Regions from separate parts of the Homo sapiens genome. Here all the other regions are linked to region 4. Evidence: promoter capture Hi-C in 16 types of primary human blood cells and fetal thymus (Javierre and others, 2016). All regions are on one chromosome and are shown on one strand. The core of a region is centred on a gene start or on the middle of the fragment in contact, and the rest is flanking DNA. Distances in the headings are between cores, read along the strand shown. Region 1 holds the start of BSDC1 (BSD domain containing 1). Region 2 holds the start of TXLNA (taxilin alpha). Region 3 holds the start of MECR (mitochondrial trans-2-enoyl-CoA reductase). Region 4 holds the start of PUM1 (pumilio RNA binding family member 1).

Region 1 (3,463 bases), core at 416-2,915, 1.3 Mb after region 4:
GAGGCCGAGGCAGGAGAATCACTTGAACTCAGGAGGCGGAAGTTGCAGAGCTGAGACTGAGCCACTGCACTCCAGCCTGGTAACAGAGCCAGACTTGGTCTCAAAAACAAACAAACAAAAAACAAAAAACACTTGCCCAAGTACATATAAGAGTAAGAAAGTAAAAAAAGGGAAATTACGTCTTTTCTTTCCAAAAAGGCATAAACAACTCCCACCTCCACCCCCACCCCAGCTTTTAACTGGGAATTCCAAGAATGAAGACGGAAGGTTGGCCAACTATCTATTTTTCATAAGTTATGATAAGACCAACCTTGAGACAAACACAGGAGGCCCTCATGCAACATCTGCTGAATGAATGTCAGACTTTCCTGCCAGGAAATTACCCAACAGGAAATATGCTACTATCGGGTCTCTTCTATCAAATGTTAGGGTGCAAGCCTCTCAGTCCTCATCAACAACATAAACAGCTCAGGGCATTCTCAGATTTGCTGGGCTATTGCTGAGAGGCTGTCCAGGAGTACCCAGGATAAGGGAGGAATAAAAACGCTCCCAGATGTCTGGGTGTGGTGGCTCACGCCTATAATCCCAGCACTTTGGGAAGCTGAGGCAGGTGGCTCACCTGAGGTGAGGAGTTCGAGACCAGTCTGGCCAACATGGTGAAACCCTGTCTCTACTAAAAATACAAAAATTAGCCAGGAGTAGTGGCACATGCCTGTAATCCCAGCTACTCGGGAGGCTGAGGCACAAGAATCACTTCAATCTGGGAGGCAGAGGTTGCAGCGAGCTGAGACCGCACCTGTGCACTCCAGCCTAGGTGACAGAGTGAGACTCTGTCTCAAAACAAAACAAAAATACTCCCAGAGTAGAGGACTTATTTAGGTGAGGTCAGAAGCTTCCTGGAGTTGGCCCTGAAGCAGGACTCATCCCAATTGCTTGAGGTAAATAGTAATCAACTTTTCCCACAATTCAGTTGGGCTGATTTTGACAAATAAGCATGAAATGAAACAGGAATACACATTGGCAAATTACCCACTGGCACAGCCAAATATCACTCATCCCACAGAGATTGTTCAGCAAGAAGGCCTTCCACTCTCTGGTGATTAATCTCTCTCTCTCTACTGCCCGTTGCATAGCCCCTACTTAGAACTCATCAGGCACCAGTGTGTATGGCTCATGCTCATCTCTGGCTTGGGTTCTTGCTTTTCATCCTGTCTAGGCAGGGTTGCCCTTGATGAGGTTCCTTCTCCACAGGGGCCTTCCCTGGTGAGTTACTGACTAACCAGAACAGACAAGGTGCCCCTGTACTTTCCTTTCACAGAACTTACCACAACGGTAACTAAACAACTATTTGTTTGGCTACTCGGTTAATGGCTGTCTCTCCACTAGACTGTGAGCTTTGTAAGGCCCAGGATTACATCTGTTTGGCTGAAGTCTGTATCCTCAAGACCTATCAGAGTGCTGGTTGTCGCATATACTCTAATATTTGAATGACTATACGAGTAAGTTTTTTTACTGCTAGAATCTTTTCCTTCAAGACCTGTATCAAATGCTCTCTCTTTCACGAAGAAACTGAATTTCCTGAGCTGGAATAAATTGCTCCTTCCTATGGATTCCTACAAAACGTTCGTTAACTCCAGCCTTTAAAACCATCTTTATTTCACTGTGGCTAGTATCACACTGGTTTGCGTCGAGGTCTGTCTTCCCGTGGACCGGTAGAGGCTAAAAGAAAGGCCCAGGTCAGCCTCATCCTTGAGACTTAGCGCCCGCAAAAGTTGGGCGGGGCTGGTTGGACCAGGTTGCATTGAGGCGGCGCAGGGCCCTGCTGAGGGAAGAAGGGCACGGGCCCGGCTTACCTTCTCTTTGACTGCTTGGTAGCTCTGCTGCAGCCAGCTCCGCCACCATCCCACGTCCTCCCTGTGGAAGACAGACACATCTGGCAGCACCGCGGTGCGATTCCTGCCCGCCCAAGGATCCGGTTTGTTCCCCGCTCAGATGTACCCTGCGGGCCGAGGCTTCGCAGACCGCTTGCCCACCCCCTCACAATGCGACTCCACTCTGCCCTTTCAGATCAGTCCACGCCCCCGCTGATCTCACGTTCCCCACCGGGACTCTCGCCCAGCACCCCAACCCTGGGAGAATTCAGGCCCCAACGCCTAGGAGCAAAACGACAAGCTCACCCTTCCGCCATCTTGCCTGCATGACATCACCACTATTTACTGACCTTTGACTTCCGACACGGCACCGCCCCCTCAAGGACCGCCCCCGAGGCGCTCGGCCCAATCCTCGCGCCGGCACCGCCCTCAGCCCAATCCCCTCCCTGCGCCATCATTAGGTCCCGCCTCCCTGAACTCTATCCAGTCTCTGTCCCGAGTTCGCCCTCAAACTCCGCCCCTGAACTCTCAGTTCAATCGTCATTCAGTCCTGTCCTCAGGCTCCACCAAGCTTGACTCTTTGTCACTGTCCGCAAACGTCGGGTACGGTGGCCTCTATGGACGATGATCAGCCGACAAGCTGGACTGCGGAGAGCTGGGAGCAGAGGGGAGGAGGAGAGATAGCTCGAACGTCAGGATCCCAGAGCGCAGGGTTAGGACCGCCCCCCTTTGTGAAACCAGCTGCGTAGAGGCTGCTTTGTGTCTCTTTGGGCTAATTCAATAAGCCCATATTGCGGGGCTGTGGCCCAGAGTTTGGAGGAATGTGAATAATTCAGAGGCGACTTAGATGCAGCCTTTGGAGGGCTTACGGGTTAATGGGAGACACACACATTCAGTAATCTCAACTTTCGGTGGCCCAGCTCAGAACAACGCCAGGTGGAGGTGGTCTGGAGAAATCCGGAGACCGCCTGGATTGAGTTCTACTGCGATTGGAAGGGAGATTCCACAGCCCACATACTTTGGACTTTAATTAAGGTCAGCCCCTCCACGTGTGCGGTAGATCCCATCGCCTCTTGTTTGCTTAAGGACATAGATCTAGTAATCCCCCCTTCATCTCTTTTCCCTCTGATGACTGCATTTATCCTTGTCATCATCCGTACTGCTGTTTCTCCCATCTCAAAGGCAAACAAAAACCAGCCCTCTCTATATCCCTCACCGTTTCCCTACTCCCCTTTACAGCAAAAGCGTTGCCTACTCACAGTCTGCAACTCCCCTCTCCTCCCATTCTCTCTTGAACTCACTGCAGTTAGGTTTTTGCCTCTCAGACAATCCTTTGAAATAACTTTCTTTTATTTATTTAATTTTATTTAATTTTATTTATTTTATATTTATTTGTAGCTCTGCTGCAGCCAGCTCCGCCACCATCCCACGTCCTCCCTGTGGAAGACGGACACATCTATTTTATTTATTTATTTATTTTTGGTCCTCCCTGTGGAAGACGGAAACATCTATTTTATTTATTTATTTATTTTGAGTCAGAGTCTTGCTCTGTTGCCCGGGCTGGAGTGTAGTGGTGCAATCTCAGCTCGCTG
Region 2 (3,383 bases), core at 567-3,066, 1.1 Mb after region 4:
CAATCACCACCTCTCCCTCACTCTGGCAGGTGCTAATATTGTTGCTATATATTGTTTATAGCAAAGGAGAAAGTAACTTGTTAACCTATGTTTCTGTCAATTATTCTTGCCTGTTCTCATTACCCAACTGGCCCCTCTAGGCTATTGTTGACCCTTCTACTACATCCTCTATCCCTCACCCCATGCATACATTTTTATGTTCTTTATCTCACCTAGAACACCCTTGTTATATGGAAATCTATCAAGGCCTGATTTATATGGTGCCTTCTCAAGAGATTTCCAGAATGCTTTTCTAGAAATAATCAGGGCCTTGGTTTCAGGACATCTAGATTCCAACCTTTCTGAGCCTCAGTTCCATCATTATACTAAAAATTGAATATCTCTTATCCAACATGCTTGGGACCAGAAGTGTTTCCAATTTGGGATTTTCTCAAATTTTACCGGTTGAGCTTCCCCAATCTGAAAATCTGAAATCCAACATGCACGGCTCTGAAGTCTTTCACTGAGCCTTTGGGGGAAATATTTAACATCCTAACAGCCCTAAACCAACGCTCAATTAGCACAACAGTTTACAATCTTCTCTACCCACAGCCTGATGCGAGGCTCTGGGACTAGACTATTTAGCCAACAGTTCTTGCAAAATTAACTGACTTATAAGTAAATAGTAATTTCAACACCTCACTGCTAATGCTGTAACAACTCTGCAGACCTAGGGAGCAAGTACGGTTTGCAGAGCACTGGGAAGGCTCTGAAGTGACCTTTGAACTGGGCCTCAAAAAATTTTGGGTTTGGCAAAAGTCAAATCTCTTAGGCTTCAAATTCCAGGCACAAGGATTGTTGGGTTTGATTTCATTATCCAGAAGCAATGGGGATACAGAATTGTGATCTCATGTGTAGGGAACTGTGGGGGTTTTTTCTACTTTAACCCCAGTGAGACTTTGTAGAGTGTGGGGTAGAGAAAAGGCTCATGAATATGCCTGAAGCCTAACTCAGCACCTTTCTGAGGAACTGACTGCCAAAATGGTAATGGAGAGGGGAAAATATGACCTACTTTCACAAGTTACCTTGACTGCCTCAGGGAAACCTGCTGTGGTAGTGTTTCTTCTGGGTGAAAGACCAGGTAATTACCTGGGTGCTGGTCTCAGACTTACCAGTTTTGAATCCCTGTTTTAACCACTCACTATCGATATGACCTTGGATAAGTTACCTAACCTTTCTCTTACTGTCCTTTTCCGTAAAATGGGGATAACAGATAGTAGTTATTTCTATGAGTGGTTATGAGAACCAAGCTATTAGATAGCGGGAAAGCACACAGTAAGCGTTCAAGGAACTGCTATTGTTATTAAAAGCCTCCTTTGGAAGAAGGACATTGAGGCCCAGAGAGAGAACAGAACGTCCAGCCACACAGCAAATCCGTGATGAAGTTGGGACTGGAGTATGGGTCTCCTGAGTCTCAGCCCAGGACTCTATCCCTCTTCCCGAGTCCTCGGAGTTCCCGGATGGAGTCACATTTGTTCACGGCCAGGGAGGAAGGTTTGATGGAGGCCTGCAGGAAACAACAGCCAGGCGCAAGGCTTTGGGAGTTGAAGCATAGCTTCTGCGAGATAGAAACAAGGTTGACATGGGCACTCGTGCAGAATGACGGGCTCCTTTTGGACTCCCAGGACTACAGTCCCTTATGCACCTTGGGATCTGCGGCTAGCCCCTGCGTAAAGAGGGACGCGTAGTCTTTTCCCTGCCCCGCCCTGCCGGGGCGCCCGCCTCCGAGGCCGCCCTCGCTTCGTCCTTCCCAGCAAGCTCCGCGCCGGCGCCGGCTATTGATTGGCTGAGGCGGGAGCAGGCGGCTGGCCGGCAGCAGTTACTCGGGGTTTCCGGTGCGAGGCCAGAGGTGGGGAAGCCATCGGACGTCGGCGGTGAGGTACGTGCAGCGGCGGCCGGTGGGCGAGACTATTTGAGAGTGTGCGGGCCGGGATGTTCTCGGCCTGTGGGGAAATCACGCCAACTCCCCGCGTGGGCCGGGGGCTGTCTGGGGATATGCGCATGCGCGGGCGTGCCTCGCGGCTTGAGGGCGCGCGGGGCGTGGGTGGCTGCGCGCGCGGGGGGCGCACGTGGGGCCTGAGGGGCGGGGGCGGTGCCGGGAGTCCCGCCACGTCAGTCTCCGGCCCTGAGCCAATCCCGCGCCCGGCCTGCCGCGAGGGGGCCGGTTGTGCCGGGAAGTGGCTCCAGGGAGAAGAGGCCTCTTCCCTCACCCGCTGTGGGAGCTGCGCCCCGAAAGCCTGCCCCGGCACGTCGGGCTCTCCTGACCCGCCAAGACCAGAGAGCCGTTGGCGCCCTCCGCCCGGGCCTGCCGGTCCGTTTATTTTAAGAAGCTTTGTGCGCCTGCTGTGGGGATTTCTGATCCAGGCTGCGAAGAATTTCGAAGTCTGGAAAATAGCAACTGTGTTTGTTTCTAAAGGATCTTCTCCTGACCCAGCATCGCTCATCACAATGAAGAACCAAGACAAAAAGAACGGGGCTGCCAAACAATCCAATCCAAAAAGCAGCCCAGGACAACCGGAAGCAGGACCCGAGGGAGCCCAGGAGCGGCCCAGCCAGGCGGCTCCTGCAGTAGAAGCAGAAGGTCCCGGCAGCAGCCAGGCTCCTCGGAAGCCGGAGGGTGTGTGCCAGCTCTGCGTTGCCAGCGGGCAGGGGGAGGAGCTGTGGGGTCGGCCTCGCTTCTGGACTTACAGGCCGAGGCCAGGTTGTCCGGGAGGAGGAGATGTAGAATGAGAGGACAGTGCTGGGGGCCGCGGTCCCCCCTGCGCTCTGGCGAGTTGGCGGAGCTGCCCCCTCTAAGCACAGGAACAGAGTTCTGGAGAGAAGCTCCGACGGGATTAAGTCAGGTGGCAGCCAAACGAGGCACCCAGTCAGGAAATCCAGGTCCCGTTAGAAACACCTCAGCCACCAGCAGCTAACTGCCCTTCCTGTTTGAGGCATTTCTAGAATGATCTGAATGGCAAGAAATGGTTTTGTGGGGGGGAAGGAGATGGACTAGAAGTTGCTCCGTGCCATCCCTGTGTGCTGATGCTTTACATACTTTTATGATCTAACAAATATGTTCGGGTGGTAGTGAGAAATAGTTGTGTCATTTTACAAGTAAACAGACTTAAAGAAGTTAGGCAACGATTACTATAATTTCTTGATTTAAAAGATGTTTCGAATCTAAATTCTGACAGGAACTAGATTTGCTGAATGATACTCCATTCTTGCTTCTCAGTTTCCATAAAAAAAAAAGTTAGGCAACATTTAACTCAAACTGATGAGTTTGGCTGGGCCTGAAAAATCCCAACCAGTGGTATAATCGTCTTCTTTCTCACTCTACCCCTCATCCTCTCCTGCTGTAG
Region 3 (3,339 bases), core at 399-2,898, 1.8 Mb before region 4:
GGCACCAAAGCAGCTCTTTTTAACCAAGCCAAGATGCATATACGGTGCAGTGGAGAGAAACATGAGTTTGGAATCAGAAGCCATGGATTCCAGTCTCCTGTTCCAATCACTTATTAGCGGTATCACTCTGGGCAAGTCCCTTGCCCTCTGGAAACAATGATCTATGACCTACTCTTTACTGACACATGAAGATCCAAATGGATGTAAAAGTATTCTGAAAACTTCTTCCAAATAATAATAATAATAGTAAGAACTCACGCAGGTCAGTCAGACATAGGTTGGAATTCTGACCCTGTCACTTACTGGCTGTGTGACCTTGGACGAGTGATTTTACCTCTTCTGCCTCAGTTTTCATCTGCAAAATGGGGATAAATCAATAACTACCCCAAAACATTGTTGTGACAATTAAATGAGAGCATCCATTTAAACAAGGGATTGCCTGACACAATATTCGATCAATAAACATCAGCCATTAATACCCTGATAATTGCCTCTCGGGTCTTCAGCTACCTTCAAGTACGGTCTTTCTGACCTACCAAAAACGCCCTGGGCTTCGGCTTCGGTTTGCTATTCTCTGCCCCCTTCCTCGGACCCTGTCCCTCTCTTCCCAGTCCGCAGCTCGTGTTAAAGCCTTCCAGAAACCCCAGTCCCCTTCCCCGGCTTCGGCGCCGTCTCTTACTCGACGACCTTGGCTGGATCCCCGTGGTGCCCATAGACAAGCGCCCGGACCCGGGCAGGCTCGGCGGATGCGGAGTAGGAGGAGGCGGCAGGTCCGTGACAGCCAGAAGCTGGGAGCAGCCCCCGCCACTGCCGGGCGGGGGTTCGCACCCGCCACAGGGTACTGCAGACCCACATGCTCGCTCCAACCAACACAGAGCCTGACGCCCCGGCTACGTCATCTTCCAGCGACCGCGCGCCTGCGCCCCGCCCCTGCCCCGCCGGGTGACCACTCCCCCTTGGTCCCTTTGAAGGGCGTTTCCTTCCTTCGCTGCCCAAGTGGTGGCGCCTGGCTAGACTGCGTGTGGGCCCCGGAGGGATCCGGGGGTGCGGAGCTTGCGAGGCCGCCAAAGCTGTTGTCTCAACAAGGAGAGTCTGGGGCTAGTCCAAAGTCGTGTCTACAGCCTGCAGTTTGGTGTTTGATTTGGAGGAAATATTTACTCTCCCTGGCCTCAGTTTACCCTTCACATAATATATTGAGTGCTCACCGAGCCAGGCTCTTTAAGGTATTATCTCATTTAATCACCACTACCATGTAACGGCATAGGGAGGCAAAGCTTACTTCCCTACACTGAGGAGAGTACACGAAAGCTGCTGTGGAGGCAGGAGTATGGGGCTTGGAGTTAGAAAACTTAGGTTCAAATCCTAGCCCTGCCACTTCCTAGCTTGGCCACCTTGGGCAGGTGAAACTCTGAATTTTTCTCATCGGTACAATGGGGATAATATGCCTCCTTCCGGATTGTTGTGAGGATTGGATGAAATAATAGAGGAATGCTATTGTGGGTGGGAGAACGCATTGTAAAAAACTCTGTTCAGATGTAAGACAGGAATCACAAGGAGAAGGGTCCTCTCTCAAAATGCTCACAGTGTAGAAAGGGATTAAGTGGAACACTGGAAATGCCTGTAAAAAGGTGTAGCCCTATGAAGGATCTAGTCTGATTTTTGGTGTAGGGAAGACATGAACATTACTAAAACCCCAGATCGAGCTGTGGCTCGTGCCAGAGTGCAATGCTGTAGTCTGAAGAGAAGTGCTCTGGGATGGGGTGGGATGGGGTGGGGGCTCTTGGAGGAGGTGCTGTTAGAGCCAGCCCTGTGATTCAAAATCTTCTGTGTGCATAAAAATAATCCGAGGTCCCATCTTAGACCTACTGAATTAGAATCTTGCGGATGGGGGTTCCAGGAATCTACATCCTTACAAGCTCCCAAGAATATTCTGATGCAGGTGTCCCAGGAAACAGGTTTTAAGATACTGAGCCAGGGCTTTGAAGGATAAGGAAGAGTTCCTTTCCTGGATTTTATTGACTTGAAGCTTGCCATCTCCAAGCCTTTCCTCTGAGGAAGAGAGCACAGCAAAGTACTGTGAGCTAGATTTGGACAAACCTGGCTTTATGTCCTAGCTCTGCCATTTTCCAGCCATTTGATTTCGGACAAGTCACCAGGCCTCTCTGTGTCTTCACTTTCTTACTCTTAAAATGGAAGGAATACTAGTTATCTGTTTCAAGATTGTTGTGAGGGTCAAGTGAGATATTATCCACTTGAAGCATTTAGTACAATGCTTGGCACATGGAAGCATTTGATAAATATTATCGGGGGTTATTGTGATTAAATGAGAAATATCACACATAAAACCCTCAGACTAGGGTCTGGCTTATAGTATGTGCTCACTAAATGTCTGTACTTGTTTTTATTATTAGAGAAAGTTGGTGTCCCATGGTGGGGGAAAGGCTTGGCCCCACATTTATGTGCCAGCACACACACGATGACCAGTCCTGCTTACCCTTTTCCCCAGTGACACATAGGCTTACTTGAACTGGGAAGTACAACGTAACCTTCTGTTGTAAGACTCCCTAGGTGACATTGAGATGTCGACATTCTCTTCTTCACCAAATTGGCTCCTCTGAATTTCTGGGGAGCCCAGTCAGGAAGCCTGAAGAATCATCCAGCAAGTCCTCCTCCTTGGGGCTGGACTTTAGCCTCCTGTGCATCCCAATAGCCCTCACTTTTAGTCTAGGCCATCTGGGTTCTTGCAGGGGCATAGTTTGAGAACTACTGACTGAGGGGTTCAAGTCCAATTTCCTGGACTTGCATTCAAGATTCTTTGCACTCTGACTCCCACACTGCATTTCCAGCTTCATCTTCTCCTGTTGGACCGTGCATAGCCTGTGATCCAGCTGCATCTGATACCCGTCTTCCCCAGTGTGTCTTGTGCCTTTATTCAGGCCACTCCTTCTGCCTGAAATGCTGTTCCCTGCCTCGGAAACTCCAGGTTCAGATGTCATTTCTTTGATGTTTCAAAACTCCCTAGGTCATCTGCTGCTGCCTTTGTGTTTTCCCTGGAGCTGTGTTATGGCCTTTAGTACATCGTCTCTTATTTATTCCCCTCCAGGCAAGACTGGAGCCATGTTTGGTTTATCTCCATAACACCAGCACCCGATATGAGCCTGGCACAGGGTAGGTGTCATAAATATTCCATGAGTTGCAGGTAATTGAATTTCCTCATGGCCTAGAACGGTCTGTGGTGCCATCTCCTTTTCCCTAGATTTGGGCTGGTCACTCCAGGCCAGGAATTTCCTTCTTCCTTCTTCTCTCAAGGATTATAGAAGTCTGTGGTCTTTTTTTTTT
Region 4 (3,394 bases), core at 570-3,069:
TGGGTAGTTTTGTGGTATTTTGGCAAATACGGCACAAAAATTAAAAACTCAGTATCCTAAATATCAGAAAAGCTCACTAATACGTGTAGCATTTAAAATGTGATTTTTTTACAAATGACACCTTATAAGTACTTTAAGCAACTAGAAGTGCTCAGTCCAGCTACTCTTTCACAGCTTTCAAATGTTTACAAAGTTTTTTAAAATATCACTAATTGAGTTGAATTCAAAGGAACACGGTTTACTTTATTTCCATGGCTCACCTTTTACTAAAATGCTTAGTGGTTTAAAAGGTGTTTATTTTTACCACACTTAACAAACATTCTGTGGTCATAAATTTATCTTAAAACAGTTCATTTTAAACCTAAACTAAACAAATTCCAACTTCAAAAAGCTGTGGCCTTGAACAAAATGAATTCAATTGTCGCTAAAGCAAAACACTAACTCAAAGTTCAGAATCCGGAGAGCGTTTCCCAAGAGCCCAGATAAAGAATCAACAGCCCCCCAGTGTTTTATAAAGTTAAAATTAGCAAAGGGTCAAAATGTTTATTTTGCTTACGAAAACTGCATCGGAAGCCACATTTCTTGGGGTTGGGCCTGTCTTAGTAAGTTTTTAGGTGCTTTCAAGAAACAAAATGCTAAGCCTATTGTTTCAGAAGTTAACTGACTTTAAAACAGAACCCAGGAAAAGCTTCATAAAATCTTATTCTTAATTAATCCCAGTAATAACAGGAATTGAGCAAAATGGTATCGAGGGCTGAGAACAGTGTTTTCTTAATTGAACAATAAAAGGTAACAATCTAAGTTACGGGAGAATAAAGCCTTCTCTGGTAATGCTGTGTGTGGGTTTCTGGCTTTGTTTTTTCAGCGGGGGGGGGGGGGGGGGCTATAGGAGGGAAAAGTTACAGGAGTGTATTCCTCACTTGACGTGGGAATGGTACTGACAAGTAAAACAAATGATCTATGTTTACCAAGCATGTTTGTGAGGACTAAAACTAGTATTGTGTATCTAGATTTTCCTACTAGCAAGGGGTGAACCCCTCTTTGAGTGAAGAGAGACACCAACACCGGGAGGCTCAAAAAGGAAGAACCCACCAAAAACACAAGCTCACACGGAAACAAAAGGCCACAGCAACCCAGGAGCCTAAAAAGCATTCTGAAACTTCCTGATCGCCACTTCTCCACATTTAAGGCTCGCAAAGTTCCCCCACGGTGAATCTCGCCTGTGGACAAGGGCCACGGCTGCTTCTAAAGCGATTTATTGTTCCTCCTCCTCCGGCGCTGCCACGGAAGCTCAAGAAGTCGAAGAAATCGGGGTGGCACAGAATTACACTTCATGGCCACACAGAAGACTCGGGGCTTCGCAAACCCATCAAAAAAAGCAACCCGAATGGCAACATCAATCTTCGGTGGTTCCCAACAGGGCCAGGCAAAAATGTAGAGGCACGTCTACGCCCTGGGCTCGGGCCTAAACCCCCAGCATTTTCCTAGCTTCGACCCCGCTCCCCACCCCCTCCCTCCTTTGATAACAATAGGGGCCTTGCTGCTGACTCCAAAACATGTACGAGGAACAGCGAGTGAGAAGCCTCAGCCAGGGCCCCGGCGGCTTTTCCAAAGCCCTTCTCACCCCCACAACCACTCTCAAACACCAATATGAAGGGACAATCTGCTCGTTAGGGGTCCGGAGCAGCGTTTGGGGCCGGTGGGGTGCGGATACTCACGGGCGGAGCGGTAGGATGAAGATGGATTTCAGCCCCCCGATCTTCTCTCTCTGGCGCTCTCGCTCCCCCTTACCTTTCACTCCGACAACATGGCGGCCCACTGGGGACTGGGTTGGCGCGGTGCATCCTGGGATAGGCTCCGGCCCCGGCCCCGGCGGTGGCAGCGGCATGTGCGGAGAAGGCTGGCGGCTCTGGAACAGGTTGCCTGGTTGCCATGCCAACCCAGGGCCTGTGTGAACTCGGGAAACTCGCAGGCAACACAAACGCTGCGCGCGAGTGCCCGCCCGCTAGGCGAGCGCGCGCCGCCAGGGCCGAAGGCGGGGTCCCGCCGGCCCGCACCTGGGAGAACACGGCCTGGAGCTGGGCACGCGGGGTTGCGCCGGTGACGCTCCACCGAGTCTCGGACGCGCTCCTCGCGCCCGCCGCGCCCTCGGAAGCTTGCCCCCGAGCACCACAGCTAGCAGGGTTCGCGGACGGCCACCCGCACTGCCCTGGCCCCAGAGGTGCAGGGTTCAAACCCCTTCTCTGCAGCTTTCTAGCTCTGCGGCCTTATTTAAATCGACCTGCCTCCATTTCCACATTTGTACAATGAAGAAGAAAATAACCCCCACTTAACAGAATGGCCTGGAGGATTAAGTGGAATAATGTATGTTAAGTGCTTTTAGTCTTACTGTCTCAAACTAAACTCAAAATAGATTGAAGGCCGGGCGCGGTGGCTCACGCCTGTAATCCCTGGACTTTGGGAGGCTGAGGCGGGCGGATCATGAGGTCAGGAGATCGAGACCATCCTGGCTAACATGGTGAAACCCTGTCTCTACTAAAAATACAAAAAAATTAGCCGGGCGTGGTGGCGGGCACCTGTAGTCCCAGCTACTCGGGAGGCTGAGGCAGGAGAATGGCCTGAACCTGGGAGGCGGAGCTTGCAGTGAGCAGAGATCGCGCCACTGCACTTGAGCCTGGGCGACACGGAGAGGCTCCGTCTCAAAAAAAAAAAAAAAATAGATTGAAAACAGACAAATCGCAATACTGTAAAAGACCAGAAGAAGATATGGGGAGAAGCTCTATAATTGGAGGAGGGAAAATGTTTATACTCATGAATCAAAGTCAAAAGATCATAAAAGAAAATATTGAAAGAAATATAAACATCTGTACGAGAAGAGATGCCATCAACAAAGTAGAACAAATGGATAAAAAATATTTGCAGTACACGGCCAGGCGCGATGGCTCATGCCTGTAATCCCAGCACTTTGGGAGGCCGAGGCGGGTGGATCATGAGGTCAAGAGATCAAGACCATCCTGGCCAACATGGTGAAACCCCGTCTCTACTAAAAATACAAAAAAATTAGCCGGGAGTGGTGGCGGGCGCCTGTGGTCCCAGCTACTGGGGAGGCTGAGGCAGGAGAATCACTTGAACCCAGGAGGCAGAGGTTGCAGTGAGCCAATATTGTGCCACTGCACTCCAGCCTGATGACAGAGCAAGACTCCGTCTCAAGAAAAAAAATATATATATATACACATATATGTATATATACATATATACATATATATACACATATATACATATATACACATATATACATATATACATATATACACATATATACATATATAAACATATATATACGTATATATACATATATATATATTTGCAATACACATGATAAGGAAATGGTTGA

The links. Contacts are between HindIII fragments. The CHiCAGO score rates a contact against its expected background, and 5 or more counts as called.
Region 1: a contact is called between a fragment that was not itself captured here and the fragment with the promoter of PUM1 in region 4, in 1 of 17 cell types (fetal thymus). The highest score is 6.0, in fetal thymus.
Region 2: the fragment with the promoter of TXLNA here is called in contact with the fragment with the promoter of PUM1 in region 4 in 1 of 17 cell types (total B cells); the score reaches 5.8 in total B cells.
Region 3: a contact is called between a fragment that was not itself captured here and the fragment with the promoter of PUM1 in region 4, in 2 of 17 cell types (total B cells and total CD4 T cells). The highest score is 6.5, in total B cells.

Annotation. Positions count from the first base shown.
Region 1 is chr1:32,392,227-32,395,689 of GRCh38, forward strand. BSDC1 (BSD domain containing 1) reads right to left here and starts at 2,215. Exons shown (of 11, transcript NM_018045.8): 1 at 2,178-2,215; 2 at 1,854-1,914. The coding sequence starts at 2,188. RefSeq lists enhancers at 1,256-1,953, 1,941-2,230, 1,954-2,649, 2,521-2,600, 3,348-3,463. The HindIII fragment of the contact is 1,550 bases long and covers 891-2,440 here.
Region 2 is chr1:32,177,859-32,181,241 of GRCh38, forward strand. TXLNA (taxilin alpha) reads left to right here and starts at 1,817. Exons shown (of 11, transcript NM_175852.4): 1 at 1,817-1,918; 2 at 2,456-2,656. The coding sequence starts at 2,488. RefSeq lists enhancers at 995-1,754, 1,755-2,513, 2,401-2,480, 2,601-2,760, 2,771-2,820 and silencers at 1,691-1,880, 2,021-2,200. The HindIII fragment of the contact is 3,390 bases long and covers 1-2,367 here.
Region 3 is chr1:29,230,052-29,233,390 of GRCh38, forward strand. It overlaps MECR (mitochondrial trans-2-enoyl-CoA reductase), which reads right to left and starts at 883. Exons shown (of 10, transcript NM_016011.5): 1 at 680-883. The coding sequence starts at 855. RefSeq lists enhancers at 259-759, 760-1,260, 785-894. The HindIII fragment of the contact is 752 bases long and covers 1,273-2,024 here.
Region 4 is chr1:31,063,898-31,067,291 of GRCh38, forward strand. It overlaps PUM1 (pumilio RNA binding family member 1), which reads right to left and starts at 1,820. Exons shown (of 22, transcript NM_001020658.2): 1 at 1,719-1,820. RefSeq lists enhancers at 1,477-1,796, 1,664-2,578 and a silencer at 1,907-2,126. The HindIII fragment of the contact is 1,467 bases long and covers 687-2,153 here.